Regions from separate parts of the Homo sapiens genome. Here region 2 is linked to region 1. The links are contacts of gene promoters, found by promoter capture Hi-C in human tissues and cell types (Jung and others, 2019). All regions are on one chromosome and are shown on one strand. Each heading gives the region's core, a stretch centred on a gene start or on the middle of the fragment in contact. The rest is flanking DNA. Distances are from core to core; before and after follow the strand shown.

Evidence for each region. The method cuts DNA at HindIII sites, captures the fragments that hold promoters and counts their contacts. A contact is called where the count stands out against the background at its distance.
Region 2: a fragment that was not itself captured here is called in contact with the fragment with the promoter of ZC3H8 in region 1 in 1 of the 25 tissues and cell types used here (hippocampus).

Annotation. Positions count from the first base shown.
Region 1 is chr2:112,250,188-112,257,759 of GRCh38, reverse strand. It overlaps ZC3H8 (zinc finger CCCH-type containing 8), which reads left to right and starts at 2,718. Exons shown (of 9, transcript NM_032494.3): 1 at 2,718-2,852; 2 at 7,488-7,569. The coding sequence starts at 2,779. RefSeq lists a cis regulatory region at 734-985 and a silencer at 2,536-2,745. The HindIII fragment of the contact is 5,500 bases long and covers 354-5,853 here.
Region 2 is chr2:111,906,373-111,913,944 of GRCh38, reverse strand. The region is part of intron 1 of MERTK (MER proto-oncogene, tyrosine kinase); the gene reads right to left. Among named protein-coding and RNA genes, the nearest start is that of MERTK, 12 kb to the right of the region's middle. The HindIII fragment of the contact is 7,559 bases long and covers 1-6,751 here.

The DNA of each region.
Region 1 (7,572 bases), core at 1,469-3,968:
TCATGCAGATGATTCAAGAGAATAAGGCAGAAACTACAATGTCTTCTTATGACCTCAGAAATCATGCATCATCACTTTTGCCACATTGTATTTGTTAGAAATAAATAAGTAAATCCTATCCACATTAAAGAAGAGGGGACTAAATCTCCAACTTTTGCAGGGAGAAGTGTTAAGGAATTTTTGAACACATTTTAATATGACCACACCATCCACTGATTTTTTTTTTTTTTTTTTGAGATGGAGTCTCACTCTGTCTCCCAGGCTGGAGTGCAGTGGCGCAATTTCAGCTCACTGCAACCTCCGCCTCCCGGGTTCAAGCGATTCTCCTGCCTCAGACTCCTGAGTAGCTGGGACTACAGGCGTGCGCCAACCCGCCCAGCTAATTTTTGTATTTTTATTAGAGACAGGGTTTCACCATTTTGGCAGGATGGTCTCTATCTCTTGACCTTGTGATCCACCGGCCTTGGCCTCCCAAAGTGCTGGGATTACAGGTGTGAGCCACCACGCCCAGCCCCATCCACTGATTTTTAAAAATTTCAGTATTATATTTTTTATTTCTAGAAGTTCTACTTGGTTACTTCTCCCCAATTTCTCTATGACACTTTTTATAGTTTCTTTTTTATTAGTTAGATATTACTATGTAGTAAACTACTTAAAAACTTAGTGGCTTAAAACAAGGACCATTTATTTATGTGGGTTAGTAATTTGGACTGGGATCATCTGAGAGTCTTTGGTTCTCTGCAGGACTCCATCATGTGTGTGCTCAGCTGTATGTTGCCTAGGAGGCTTTGCTTTTAGGGTTTTGCTAGCTGTTGACTGGGTGTTTTCGCTGTCCTCCATTAGCCTTATCTTCTACATGCCTCTCCCTTATCGTCAGCAGGGTAGCCTGAGTTTATTGTCCTGAAGAAGGCAGGCATATAAGAGACAGCAGACACATACAAAGCCTCTTGGGGCCTTGGCTTGGTATTGGCAGGCCACTTCTGCATTCTACTAGCTAAGACAAGTCATTCTATCAGGCAAAATCAACTCAGATTAAAGAGGAGGTGAAATAGATCCTACCTCTTTATGGGAGGAGCTGCAAAGTCACATTGCAAAGGACATGGATACAGGAAAGGTTGGAGAAATTGGGGCCTTTTTTGGCATCAATCTAACACAAACATATGTAGCCTTTTATATAGTCTTTGTCTGAAAATGCTAGTGTCTGATGCCTTTGCAGGTCAGATGTTTTAGCTGCTTTTTACCTACCAATCTAATTTTCATTTGTGTCTGGTTATCTTTTGCTGTATGTTGGATATTTTATATAAAAAAGTGTGTATGGTAACAATTTGGGTTCTATAATAATGCTTCCTGCTAAAGAGGGGGTAATTCTAGTTTTTATCTCCTTAATTCAATTTTTTCTCTGAATTTTTAGTAATGATTCATGTTCCATAGGTGATGGCCTACAATATAAACAACATGGGAAAGTAGAATTTCCCTGGGGAAGATGTCTGGCTTCAAATAGTTCCCTTCACTAATCGGTAAAGGGATCCTGATTCATGCCAAGAATCAAACACTCCCTTCACTTACAGAAGCAAGTCAGGTTCTCTATCACTGGCCCAACCTAGGGTTTGAGCCTTCCTTTCTACAGGTCCCTTAAATGGCATTACATTGAGCAAAACTGAGCAATTTCCTGTTCTGCAACAGCATGCTCTATTTTCCTGCCTTCATACAATTCTCTCTACTTGGAATGCCCACTTCCTCTTTTCCTATGGAAATATCTCAAGACCCAGCTCAAATACTCCCTTCTCAAGAAGCCTTCCCAACTGGATGCAATTTTTTCCCTCTTCTGAATTCTCTTAGTATTTGGTACTTTTTAACGGACTTTTCTGTCTTGAGGTTACTTGTGTATTCATTTTAATTCCCATTCAATTGTAGAGACCCTACAAGTTACATTACCTGACTACACATCTGTTTATTCATTTCAAAACTGTGAATGGTAATAGAACATCTTTTACAGGGCTGTTGTGAGGATTAAGTTAGCTAACATGTGAAACGCTATTTCTAAGGAATAGTAGTGGAGTGCTCAGATAAATGTTAGCTGTTACTACCATCCCTTAGAAATACTGTGATTTTGATGGAAGAGTTTTCACCAAGGTGAAAGCAGAATCCTAACAACTAATTTTAAAAATTCTGGGCTGGGGCCGGGCGCGGTGGCTCACGCCTGTAATCCCAGCACTTTGGAAGGCTGGGGCGGGCGGATCACGAGATCAAGAGATCGAGACCATCCTGGCCAACATGGTGAAATCCCGTCTCTACTAAAAATACAAAAATTAGCTGGGCGTGGTGGCAGACACCTGTAGTCCCAGCTACTCAGGAGGCTGAAGCAGGAGACTTGCTTGAACCCGGGAGGCGGAGGTTGCAGTGAGCCGAGATCACGCCACTGCAGTCCAGCCTGGACGACAGAGCTTGACTCTGTCTTTAAATAAACAAACAAACAAACAAATAAATAAATAAAATAAACAAAATTCTACTATCTGAGGTAAAGGACGAAAAAGCTTACAGAAGGGCAACCACGGCGGCGCCTGCGCAGAGCCGAGGCGAAGGAGGCAGGGAGAGACCCGGCCTGCCCAGAGTCGCGGAGGGCGGTGCAGCGCATGCGCGGGGCAGGTGAGGCTGCGCGGGGCGGAGCCTGTGGCCCTGGCGCGGCTCTGGGTCCGTCTCGTCGCGTCCGGGTTGTCACTCTCTCGGGTTGTTACTCTGTAGCTTCCCGGCTCGCGAAAGGGAGGACCTGTCTGGGTCATGGATTTTGAGAATCTTTTCTCAAAACCCCCCAACCCGGCCCTCGGCAAAACGGCCACGGACTCTGACGAAAGGTGATCCCATATCTTTTCATCTTTTGAATGCAGGGGCTCAGCGGGACTCCGCCTCTTAGTTTCTTCTGGATTGGAGGCAGTCCGGGGCCACGTCCGGGCCGCGTCGCGAGGGCCCGTGGGGAGCACGTGGGCCGGCCGGGCGCCACCGTCTGACCTATAGAGGTCGTGCGGGGTCCGGGTGGGAGCAGAAGCTGAACGCGGGGCTCAGGCTTAGGCCGTCAGGGCCGGGGCTGTCGAGAGCCTGGGCGGGGGAGCGGGGTGGAGGCGAGAAGGCTCCGGGATGCGCCCCTTTCTCTGCACAGCAGCGGGTGAGGAGCCCGCCTCTGTGGTCCCGTAGCGTCTGTCTTTACCGTTGTTGCCTGTTTCCACGAGACCGTAAACTCCCAGAGGACACTGATGTGACCTTTTTCACTGACACCTCCTAGGTTCTTTTCTGTAGAAAGGATGAAACCACAAGTTTATTGAAAGGTAAAGAATAGGCAATACTCTGCCATTAGTCCACTGATTTGCATGGAAAGACCCTAAAGACCACAATAAAGCAACAGACGTCATTTGGACTTAATATTTCCATTAGGTTGGAAAAGCAAGTGAGACTCTTGGTCAGATGGCCCTAATTTGTAGATTATATTTTTGGAGCAGTGTCTAGTGATTTGAAATGCTAAAAACCACCATCTTTGTTCTTAAACCTACGTCTTTTATTTCCCTCAACTGAGATATATTTCCAGTTGTGATTGATTTTACCATTCGATATTGGTCAGCTGTTCACTCTATCTCAAATTTTACCTTAACTGATCATCCAGAGCTTTACCTTGTGCTTTACATGAAATAAATCACTTAATCCTCAAAACAAACTTAAAGAGAAGATGATGCCGTCCTCGTTTTACAGATGGGAAAACTGAGGCACGGAGAGGCTAAATAACCTGCCGAGATTGCACAGTGTAAGTGGAAGAGCTATGTCCAGGATCCATGATTTTATCACCAAGCTTCTCATGCAAAATGACTAAAATTTTAAAATAAGCCCTATAAATATTGGAAAGAGACAGATACACTAATTACTTGCAGATGATATAATTTACTAAGAAAAATAACTGGTACTAATTGATATGTTATAAAATACATAAGAATTCATCACACAAAAAAAAGATAATAGCAACATTTAAAAATCCGAACAGCAGCTATCAGTTTCAAAGTGTGTTGGACACAAGCTCCATTCCCCAAAACTTGACTGCAATACATAAAAGACACTTGGAATTTTGCCAAAATGATGGGTGAAGGATGGTATGGAAGTATGGTGAGCTGTCCATATTATTTGCCCATTTTTCTCCTTTTTGGTCTTTTTCACATTCTAGGATCTCTTATCTGCGAATACTTTACTCCCAATTGTCATTTGTCTTTGCCTATGGCATTATTTTTCAATGTAAAAAGGAATGGGGATGTTGTGGTTTGGTTTTATGCAGTCAGATGAATCAGTCTTTTCTCATATGGTTTCTGGTTTTTTTTCCGAGTAATTTGTGATGGGAATACTTCTCATTCATTCAAAAAATCGTATTGAGCACCTGCTACGGCCTTGGGGATATAGTAGTAAATGAAGAAGAGATGAAAATTTCTGTACTAATGAATTTACATTATTAGGGGAAGGGGGAGACATACATAAATATATCATATTTTAGGTGGTACTAAATGCCCTGAGAAAATGAATGAAGGGTAAGGGGAAAATAAGCACTGGTGGGATGGTAGGGAGGGAGTAGTTTTGTGGGTTTTTTTTTTATTTTTTTGAGCAGAGTCTGGCTCTGTCGCCCAGGCTGGGGTGCAGTGGCGCGATCTCGGCTCACTGCAAGCTCTGCCTTCCGGGTTCACACCATTCTCCTGCCTCAGCCTCCCGAGTAGCTGGGACTACAGGCGCCTGCCACCACGCCCGACGTATTTTTAGTAGAGACGGGGTTTCACCATGTTAGACAGGATGGTCTCGATCTCCTGACCTTGTGATCTGCCCGCCTTGGCCTCCCAAAGTGCTGGGATTACAGGCGTGAGCCACCGCGCCCGGCTGGGAGGTGTAGATATTTTAAGAAGGTAGATAAGGAAAGCCTCACTGATAACATTGGTAAGTTTTAAAAATCTGTGTAGGGACCTGAAGGAGGTGAGGGGGTTTCATAGTCCAGAGGGGTGGAGAGGAGTCTGTATAAAGGTCCTCAGACGGAGTGAGCTTGGTGTGATTGGGTTAGGGGAGCAAAGTGGCCAGGACAGCTGGGGTGGAGTAAGAGGGACTTGGAAGTCTGCGAGGTACTGGGGTAGGGTTAGGGGAGCCCAATCATGGAGGAACTGGTAGGTGCCGAAATAAGGACTTTGGCTTTTACTCTGAATGAGACAAGAGACCATTGGAGGGTTTTTCAGCAGAGTGACATTTGAAATATTTTAGCAGGGTCATTCTAGTTGTGTTGAGAGTAGAATGTAGGGGTGCCAGAGCAGCTTGGATTGTTGTATTAGTGGCAAGAAGTGGTCAAACGTGGGTATGTTGAAGATAGAATAAACTGGATTTCCTCAGAGATTGGATGGGGATGTGAGAGAGGAATCAAGATTGACTTTAAGGTTTTGGTAGGGATCTTGAGAGGGATGGTGTTGCCGTTTTAGATAGCAAGAAGGATTAGGCTTCAGAGAGAAGAGCAAGAGTTCAGTGTTGGATGTTTTAAGATTACATATGTCTAGTAGATGTTCAGGTGGTTATGTTGACTAGGAAGTTAGCTCTGTTTGGATTTAAGAAGAGGGGTTTGGGTTAGAGACTTGGATATTGAAATCAACTACATACAGATGATATTCATAGTGATGATATAGAAAGGGATAGCCTGGAATGAGAATATAGATGAGAATATAGACAAAGAAGAGAAGAGGTGAGAACTGACTTTGAAAGTTGTGAAGATAAGGAACCAACAAAGGAGACTGAGAAGTAGTAGCTGTGGAAAGAAGAAACTAGAAGAGCCCACTATCTCTGAAGCTAAGTAAAGAACATGTTTTACAGAGAAGAGGTGGTCACCTCTGTCCTATCCTGCTCATAGGTCTAATATGGGTGCTGAGTATTGTAGACCTTCACAGTGAAAGTAGACATCTATTTAGAATGGGCAGTGTTGAATAACAGTGTGATTGTAGGGCACATACTTGGGAGCTTTGCCTGCCTGCTGGGGCTCAGATCTCAGCTCCACCATGTATTAGCTCTGTGACAAGTTACATATCCTTTCTGTGATTGTTTTCTCATCCGTAAAATGGGCTTTTAGTATGTATGTCATAACACTGTTGTTTGTGGTAAGTGTTACGTGTATGGAGCAGCATCTGGCACAGAGTAAGCATCATTCAAGTGTTGGCTGATGCTGTTACTGCTATTGAGGTCATTATTGTCATTATTCCTCTGCCTAAGGAGAGGTTGCCTCCTACTCCATGAGATGATTCATTACTGGAAACTATAGCTATAAAGATTCACAAGTATTGGGGTTTTTGGTTCTTGTAATGGTGGCTTCTGTAGCAGGCTCACAACTTAGTACCTCATCTGATGGATGTAACTCTGGAGCTCTGAGTCAGTGTAAACTGTTGAATTGGACAAAGCTGTGAAGCCTGAGCTCCTGTAACTTTGAAAGAACAGCCACGGAGCCACTGTTCACATTCTCCTTGTGCTGTCAGTGCTTTCCCTTTGTAACATGTTCTCTTGAGATGGGACACATTCCCCAATTCCTTGCCTTTATCTGGTGTGTAACTCATATTTTAATTCACAGCTTTTCCCAATCTTGTGTTCAATAGTCACCACTTACTAAGATAATATTTTCTTCAGCTCCCTATATTTCTAGTATCAACCATTATTCAGATACATCTATACATTTTATTGTCTTCTTTGTTCACCATGTTCTTATATTTCCCATCCCTCTTGGGTTCATATTTAGTTTTGCTGGAATAGCCTCAAGTAATTGTCTCAGACTGTTATATATATGCATGGTCAACTTCTCAGTCCTGTAAGTCTGAAAACAGTTTTTCTTTTTCATCTTTACACTTAAATGTGTTTGTCTCGCTCCTAATCTCAAAAGGCACTCTGCATTCTGCCTAAAATACCCTTCTCTCTCACATTCCTCTTTCCTCTTTTTTGGCTAACTCATAAGTATCATTTAGGCTCTGAATGCCTCTGATCCCCAAGTCTGGGTTGTGTTCCCCATATATGCCCCTATACTTACCATACCATATTGAAATAGCTTTATTTTTTTCTCCCAAGGAGATAGAAAGCTCTCAGAACACAGTGACAGGGTCTGTATTTTTCATTGTTGTAGTCCAGGGCCTAAGGCCCGGAGCCTCGTACATGGTGGGTACTTAGTAGTTGTTGAATTAATGGAATGATGGATGAATGAATGATTTATATAGCTGCTAATACTTGAACATTAAGGCTTTATAATCTAAAATTTTACAGGCTATTCATAAATATATATGGACATTTATTGGTCATCATAATTTTGTACATTTTCTGGAGTATTTGGTATAGAATTTGAATTTGTAATTTCTTTGAGGGTAAGTTGAAGACAAGCCAAAGCAGTGAATTGTAACGCTGTGGTATGAACACTTCAGGTTGAAAAAACTCTTTTGTGTTATTTGATATTTTTGCTACAGAATCGATGATGAAATAGATACAGAAGTTGAAGAAACACAAGAAGAGAAAATTAAACTGGAGTGCGAGCAAATTCCCAAAAAAGTA
Region 2 (7,572 bases), core at 1,723-4,222, 340 kb after region 1:
GAAGTAAAACACATCAGAAAGAAAAGATCAGAAAAGAAGAAAATAAAAGGATTGCTACTTGCAGATATGATTATCTTCATAGAAAATTCCAAGGAAGGCTAGGCACAGTGGCTCATGCCTGTAATCCTAGCACTTTGGCAGGCTGAGGTGGGTGGATCACCTGAAGTCAGGAGTTCAACACCAGCCTGGCCAAAATGGTGAAACCCCACCTCTATCAAAAATACAAAAAAATTAGCCAGGCATGGTGGTGGCATGCGCCTGTAATCCCAGCTACTCCAGAGGCTGAGGCACAAGAATCGCTTGAGCCCTGGAGGCGGAGGTTGCAGTGAGCTGAGATTGCACCACTGTACTCCAACCTGGGTGACAGAGTGAGACTCCATCTCAAAAAAAGAAAAAGAAAAAAAAGAAAATTCCAAGGAATCTATAAAAAAGTCTCCTTGGAACAAATAAGTTATTTTATCAAGGTTGCAAGATACAAATTATTGTATTTCTACATATGAAGCAATAAACACATAGACATTGAAATTAAAAATACAATACCATTTACAATCACTCCAAATGGTGAAATACTTAGGTATAAATCTAACAAAGCACATACAGAACTCTTCTGCTAAAAACAACAAAACACTGATGAAAGAAATACAAGAAGATATAACTAAATGGAGAGATATACTGTGTTCATAAATTGGAAATCTCAACCTAGAAAAAATATCAATTCTCCCCAAATTGATATACAGATTGTAGTATAATTTCAAAGTATATATTTGGCCTTTGTCCTTGATTCCTGGCATAGAGGTCCTTTAAGCAATGTTACAAATCTATGTTCAATATCTTCTACTGGGTAAAAAGCAAAGGACCCAGTACCTGTATCAACCCACACAGAAACTTTTTCACCTTTCGCCAGGCCTTTTACCTAGACAGTCTTCTCTAATCCTGTGAAGGGTGTATCACTGGAATTGTCCCCAGTTCATAGATGAGGATCCTGAGGTTCCCAGATGCTAAACGACTTGCCCAGCTCTCCATGGCTAGGAAGGAATGAAGAGGGCTTCTCACAGCCACCAACTACCCTAACCTTGCAGTCCACATACAAGCCCCAGCTACTGAGCCCTGGGTTGCAGGTGGTTCTGAGGGTTGAACTGAGGGAAGGCTCCAGTGTGTGACAGCCAAGGGTGAGGATGGGGCACTGAATGATAAGCATGAGTGGCGAAAGAGCCAGTTGCATCACTCACTTCACAATCTAGTTGCAACCTGCCCTGAGGAGTATTCTCAGATCTGTTTAGAGTACTCTTGGGAAGAAATATCTTAGTCCAGATCTCCCATGGCAATAACCTGCCTATAAGATGTGCAGGACTGGCAACATATAATGGGGCTGAAATTGCATATAACCTACAACTCAGTGTTTCCACTCCTAGACTCACACATGTCCATAGGGAGACATGTAAGAAGGTTAAGGGCTCTTAACTTGGATAGGGGTTTTGATACCTATATTTATTAAAACTCATCAGACTCCACACTTAAAATCTGCACATTTAATTATGGCAAAGGAAACCTCACAATAGAAAAGAATAATGTTCATGGCAACGTTGTTTGTAATAGAAAAATTCAGGAAAACCTAAATGCCCATTAAGAGGCAACTGGGGCCGGGTGTGGTGGCTCATGCCCGTAATTCCAGCACTTTGGGAGACCGAGGTGGGCAAATCATGAGGTCAGGAATTCAAGACCGGCCTGGCCAGCATGGTGAAACCCCATCTCTACTAAAAATACAAAAAAAAAAATTAGCTGGGCATGGTGGTGGGCACCTGTAATCCTAGCTACTTGGTAGGCTGAGGCAGGAGAATCACTTGAACCTGGAAGGTGGAGGTTGCAGTGAGCCGAGATCGCACCACTGCACTCCAGCCGGGGTGACAGCGTGAGACTCCGTCATAAATAAATAAATAAATAAATAAAGCGATTGGAAGCCAGGCACAGTGGCTCATGTCTGTAATCCCCACACTTTGGCAGGCCGAGGCAGGAGGATCACTTGACCCCAGGAGTTAGAGACCAGCCTCGACAATGTGGCAAAACCTCATCTCTACAAAAAAGTTAAGAAACAGCTGGCTGTGTTGGCATGCACCTGTAGTCCTAGCTACTCAACAGGCTGAGGTGGGAGGATCACTTGAGCCCAGGAGTTTAGGCTCCAGTGAGCTATGATGGCACCACTGCATTTCAGCCTGGGCAACAGCCAACTCAAAAAAAAAAAAAAAAAAAAAAAAAAAGGCTGGGCGCTATGGCTCATGCCTGTAATCCCAGCACTTGGGAGGCTGAGACGGGCAGATCACACTGGAGGTCAGGAGTTCAAGACCAGCCTGGCCAACATGGTGAAACCCCATCTTTACTAAAAATACAAAAATTAGCTGGGCATGGTGGTGTGCACCTGTAATCCCAACTACTCGGGAGACTGAGGCAGGAGAATCACTTGAACCCAGGAGGCGGAGGTTGCAGTGAGCTGAGATAGCGCCATTGCACTCCAGCCTGGGCAACAGAGTGAGACTCTGTCTCAAAAAAAAGAAAGAAAACAAAAAAACAAAAGGAGGAGATTGGATAAATAAAACTATGGTATATTTACATATTTGTCTATGAAGATAAATGAACAAAGGTTACACTTTTCAACTCAGATGAATTTAGCAAACTTCACAAACAGTGAAAAAGCAAGCTGAAGAAGAAAGCATACTATTTATATGAAATTTTATAACATGTATGTGGTAAGCTGCTGCTAGCGTCCTGCTCAGCACCCATTTCCCCTTGTTTCCACAAAGGGGACCCAATCTCATTCAGGGTGGCAACTTGCCCAGCTAGCACACTTGACTTGCCACTCTTCCTGGCAGCTTGGAATAATCAGGGAAAGGTTAGCTGAAGTCCATAGCATAGGGCTTCGTATTGAGTTATCACCTTCTTTTTTAAAAGCTGCTTTAATTAACATAATTGTACATATCTATGGAGCACATTACACATTACTGTTAACTATAGTAATCCTACAGTGCTATGGAACACTAAACTTATCCCTCCTATCTTGCTGTAATTTTGAATTCTTTAACAAATCTCTTCCTATCCTCCCCTTCCTCCTATCCTTTCCAGGCCCTAGTAACCTTTGTCCTACTTTTTACTTCTACAAAATCAACTTTTTTGTTTAGCTTCCACCTATGAGTGAGGACATGTGGTGTTTAACTTTGTTTCTGGCTTGTTTTAATTAACCAAATGTCTTCCAGTTCCATCCATGTTGCTACCAATGACAGGATTTCATTACTTTATGGCTAAATATTTAATAGTATTCCATTTGTATATATATATATATATACACACACACACACACACACTTTTTTTTTAAGTTACAGGGTCAGCCGGGTGAGGTGGCTCATGCCTGTAATCCCAGAACTTTGGGAGACTGAGGCGGGTGGATCACCTGAGGTCAGGAGTTCGAGATCAGCCTGGCCAACATGGTGAAACCCCATCTCAAATAAAAATACAAAAATTAGCCAGGCGTGGTGGCAGGCGCCTGTAATCCCAGCTACTCGGGGTGCCGAGGGAGAAGAATCACTTGAACCCAGGAGGCAGAAGTTGCAGTGAGCTGAGATCATGCCACTGCATTCCAGCCTGGGGGACAAGAGCGAGACTTTGTCTCAAAAAAAAAAAAACAAAAAACAGAGACAGGGTCTCACTCTGTTGCCCAGGCTGGAGTGCAGTAAGGCAATCATAGCTCAGTACAGTCTCAAACTCCTGGGCTCAAGGAGTCCTCCCACCTCAGCCTGCTGAGCAGCTATGACCATAGGCATGCACCACAATGTCTAGCTAATTTTTTTATTTCTAGTAGAGACCAGGTCTTGCCATGTTGCCAAAGCTTATACCACATTTTCTTTATCCATTCATCCGTTGATGGACACCTAGACTGATTCCTTAGCTTGGCTATTGTGAATAGTGCTATATTAAACATGAGGGTGCAGATGTCTTTTTGATATACTGATATCCTTTCTTTTGGATAAATGACCAGTAGTGCAATTACAGGATCATATGGTAGTTCCATCTGTAGTTTTTTGAGGAACCTCCATACCATTCTTCATAGTGTTCCCGGACCGAACTGAGGGTTGGGCTGCTTATTCTCATGCCCAATAATGAGATGCAGATGAACTGGGAAAGAAGGGAGTTTATTTCTCCCTGGGTACAGGGAGAAGGCCTGGAAAACATCACCACATCAACTCAAAATTACGTTTTCCAGGGATTATATACCTTCTAAGCTATATGTCTACATGGAAGTGTGCATTCATTTAAAGACATAAGTGATTAACTTCTTCTAATCTATAACTAAGGTCTGAGTCCTGAGGACCTTCTTCTGGAGCCTCAGTAAATGTACTTAATCTAAGTGAATCCAGGTGCTGGGGTGATTATCCTTATTATCTTGTCTCCCGCTAAATCATGGAGGTTTGAGGAGTTCCTTCAGACCCCCAATAAACTTGTTTGTGGAGGTCTGGGGAATTTCTTAAGATCCCCAGTAAAACTTGTTTAATCCTAAATGAGGCCTGTTAAGAATTCCTTTGTTATCTTGTCATGAGTCAAGGCCCAGGAAAGGCCTGGGCAAAACTTCTGGTGGGCTTTCATTACATTCCAGCCTTTGTATGAGGGCACCGGCTCTATTAGCTTTTAATATTTAACTTAACCACTCAGTGCTGAAACAGTTGTTACAGAGGCCTGCGTTACCGAGACCTGGCCTGCCACAATAGTGGCTGTGATAGTTTAAATCCCCACCAGCAGTGTATGAGTTCCCTTTTCTCTGCACCTTTGCCAGCATTTGTTATTTTTTGCCTTTTTGACATAGCCATCCTAAATGCAATGAAATGAAACCAGGTTGTAATTTTGGTTTACATCTCCCTGATGATTAGTGATGTTAAGCATTTTTTCATATATTTATCTGTTAGCCATTTGTATTTCTTCTTTTGAGAAATATGTTTAGATCACTTGTTCATTTTTTAATCGGATTGCTTGTTTTTTGCTGTTGAGATGTTCCAGTCACCTTCTTGATAAAAAGGACAGACTCAGCTGGTATGAGACTTTTTGTCCTTTTCCCTTCTGCTTTTTTCTGCCTGGAATGCAAATGAAATGCCCAGAAGCACAGCAGCCATTTAAGGAACAATGTGTTCTAAAAGCATACACTATAGATGTCAGAGCCAAGAGCCAGGTCATTGACTTTATCATGGAGCCACTGTCTAATCCCAACCTGGTTGCTGTCAGACTGCTTGTTGTATGAGAAAAATACTCCCATTTTGGTTACACCACTGAAGTAAGGTTTTCTGTTATATGCAATCAAATGTAACTGACATGGTGCAAAACAACACTATAGAGTGTTACCAACATAATCATGTCAATCATGATCAAAGGATAAAGACATGCATGGGAATTGAAACACCCAATGTGGGATAATGGTTTTCTCTGGGTGGGAGTGAGGGGATGACACTGGAGAGAGGAACGACCGGGGACTTCCACTGTAGTGTTAATGTCTGACTTCTTACGTCAAGTAGTGAGTACACAGGCGAGTTTTATTACCTGTTAAATCCTTTTGTGTATCCTAAATATTTTATAATAAGATGTGAGTATAAAGAGTAGCTGAGAGGAAAAAATATAATGGTAAAAAGGGAAAGGCCTTACTATTTACTGGTTGGCCCACCTGATTAGCTGTATCTCTTTCCACCAACAGGTCCTAAAATCCTAAGGGCACTTGGCTTAATGAATCATCCAGCTCAACATTCTCACTTTGTCTAGGAATTGCCACCTCCCTTGGATAAGCATAATTAGCTTACTCCTACCCTCAATGGCCAGGTTCTGATACATACCCCTCCTGGGATGGGGTAATAGAGAGAGGCTCCCCACCACTGCCCAAGAATCAGACATCAGATATACTGCATCAGTGGAGTGTAACGAAAGAGGTGGCACAGAATAGCTTGGACATACACAAGGCAGGGCCACAGCCCCAAAGATTGAGTCCACGGGTCCTGGGAACCTGAGCTTCTACCTTGCGAAAATGCTTCCTAGGTAGTTCTGAAGCATACCTCTTCTTGAGAACCCCTGTCATGAATCATTGTCTTTATCCTTATCTTCCCAGCCAGAATATTTAAGAGCGTTGCATTCTACAGTTTATATCACAAAATATTTTTTAAATTTCCAATTATAAAATGACATAATAATATTGAATGAATAAACTTTTGAAAATGACATCATTCTCCCTGATCCTGAAGATTCTGCTGTTCCCCCTCAGGGGGGATATGCCCCACTCCATCCACCCCGGAAAAAGCTTAGTCCATCCCTCTGTCTCTCAGAAGATTTAGCAGGAAGAGGTCATATGTGTTTGGGGAGATCCAATATTCTCAGAAATATACCTCCATGTTTCCAGACTATTCTATTGCCCCAGAGTTGGAGGGGGTACTTACTGGAGGAACAGACAGCCCAGGTGGCAGGGAATGGCAACTGTCAACAGCAAAGAACCCACTAGCATCACTCTTTTTTTTGATACGGAGTTTTACTGTTATTGCCCAGGCTGGAGTGCAGTGGCACAATCTCGGCTCACTGCAACCTCCGCCTCCTGGGTTCAAGTGATTCTTCTGCCTCAGCCTCCCAAGTTGCTGGGATTACAGGCATGCGCCACCACGCCTGGCTAATTTTTTGTATTTAGTAGAGACAGGGTTTTACCATGTTGGTCAGGCTGGTCTCAAACTCCTGACCTCAGGTGATCCACCCACCCTGACCTCCCAAAGTGCTGGGATTACAGGCGTGAGCCACCGCACCTGGCTGCATCACTCATTTTTAATGAAACTCTTCACACAGCCTCCATCTCCGTTTCTGGGCTGATGTCTAAGAAAGTTCACACCGAGAGTCACGCACAGGGCTGAGGGTCAAACTCAGGCTGAGGCTCTGTGTCCCAAACGGCATGGGAGAAAGTATCCCTTCCCACCTCTCCCCTTTAGATGGAATCAGTGTTCTGCCCCAAAGGGGCCTAGAATCATCCATCTGCTTTCCCATTTGACAAGTGAGGATGTGGAGTTTTAGAAGGAGGACACACTATACCCCAGCTGTCCCTGCAGGTTCCTCTCAAAGCTAGGATGAGAACTTACATCTTTCAACTCCCCAAGTGGTTATTTTTTAAACTAAGAGTGAATCTAAAAAGCTTCTTTTTTTTATTTGCTCCAAAACTTTCAAAGAACATTGCTTTCATCACCAAATCTTCAAATCATGTGCCAGAATTGTAAAAAGGCTTAAAGGCTGGTTTCACTTCCTGTGTGGAGGCAGCCTGCCGTTAATTGGAACAAGTGAAAAACTGGCCTCCAGGCACACACAACACTTGGGAAGTCCATGAATATTTATCACCGCACTGAGAATTCCCTAAGCGGCACAGTGACAGAAAACAACTTTCAGTTAAGTTTGAGTCTCTGTTCTAATATTCTCCACTAAGACAGCCTGTTCTTACTTGTGAAAGTGATCATTTTCAAAACCATAATGAAGCCAATCTACTATTGGTAGCTCTAACCACAAGGCCCTAAGGCTTAAAATAAC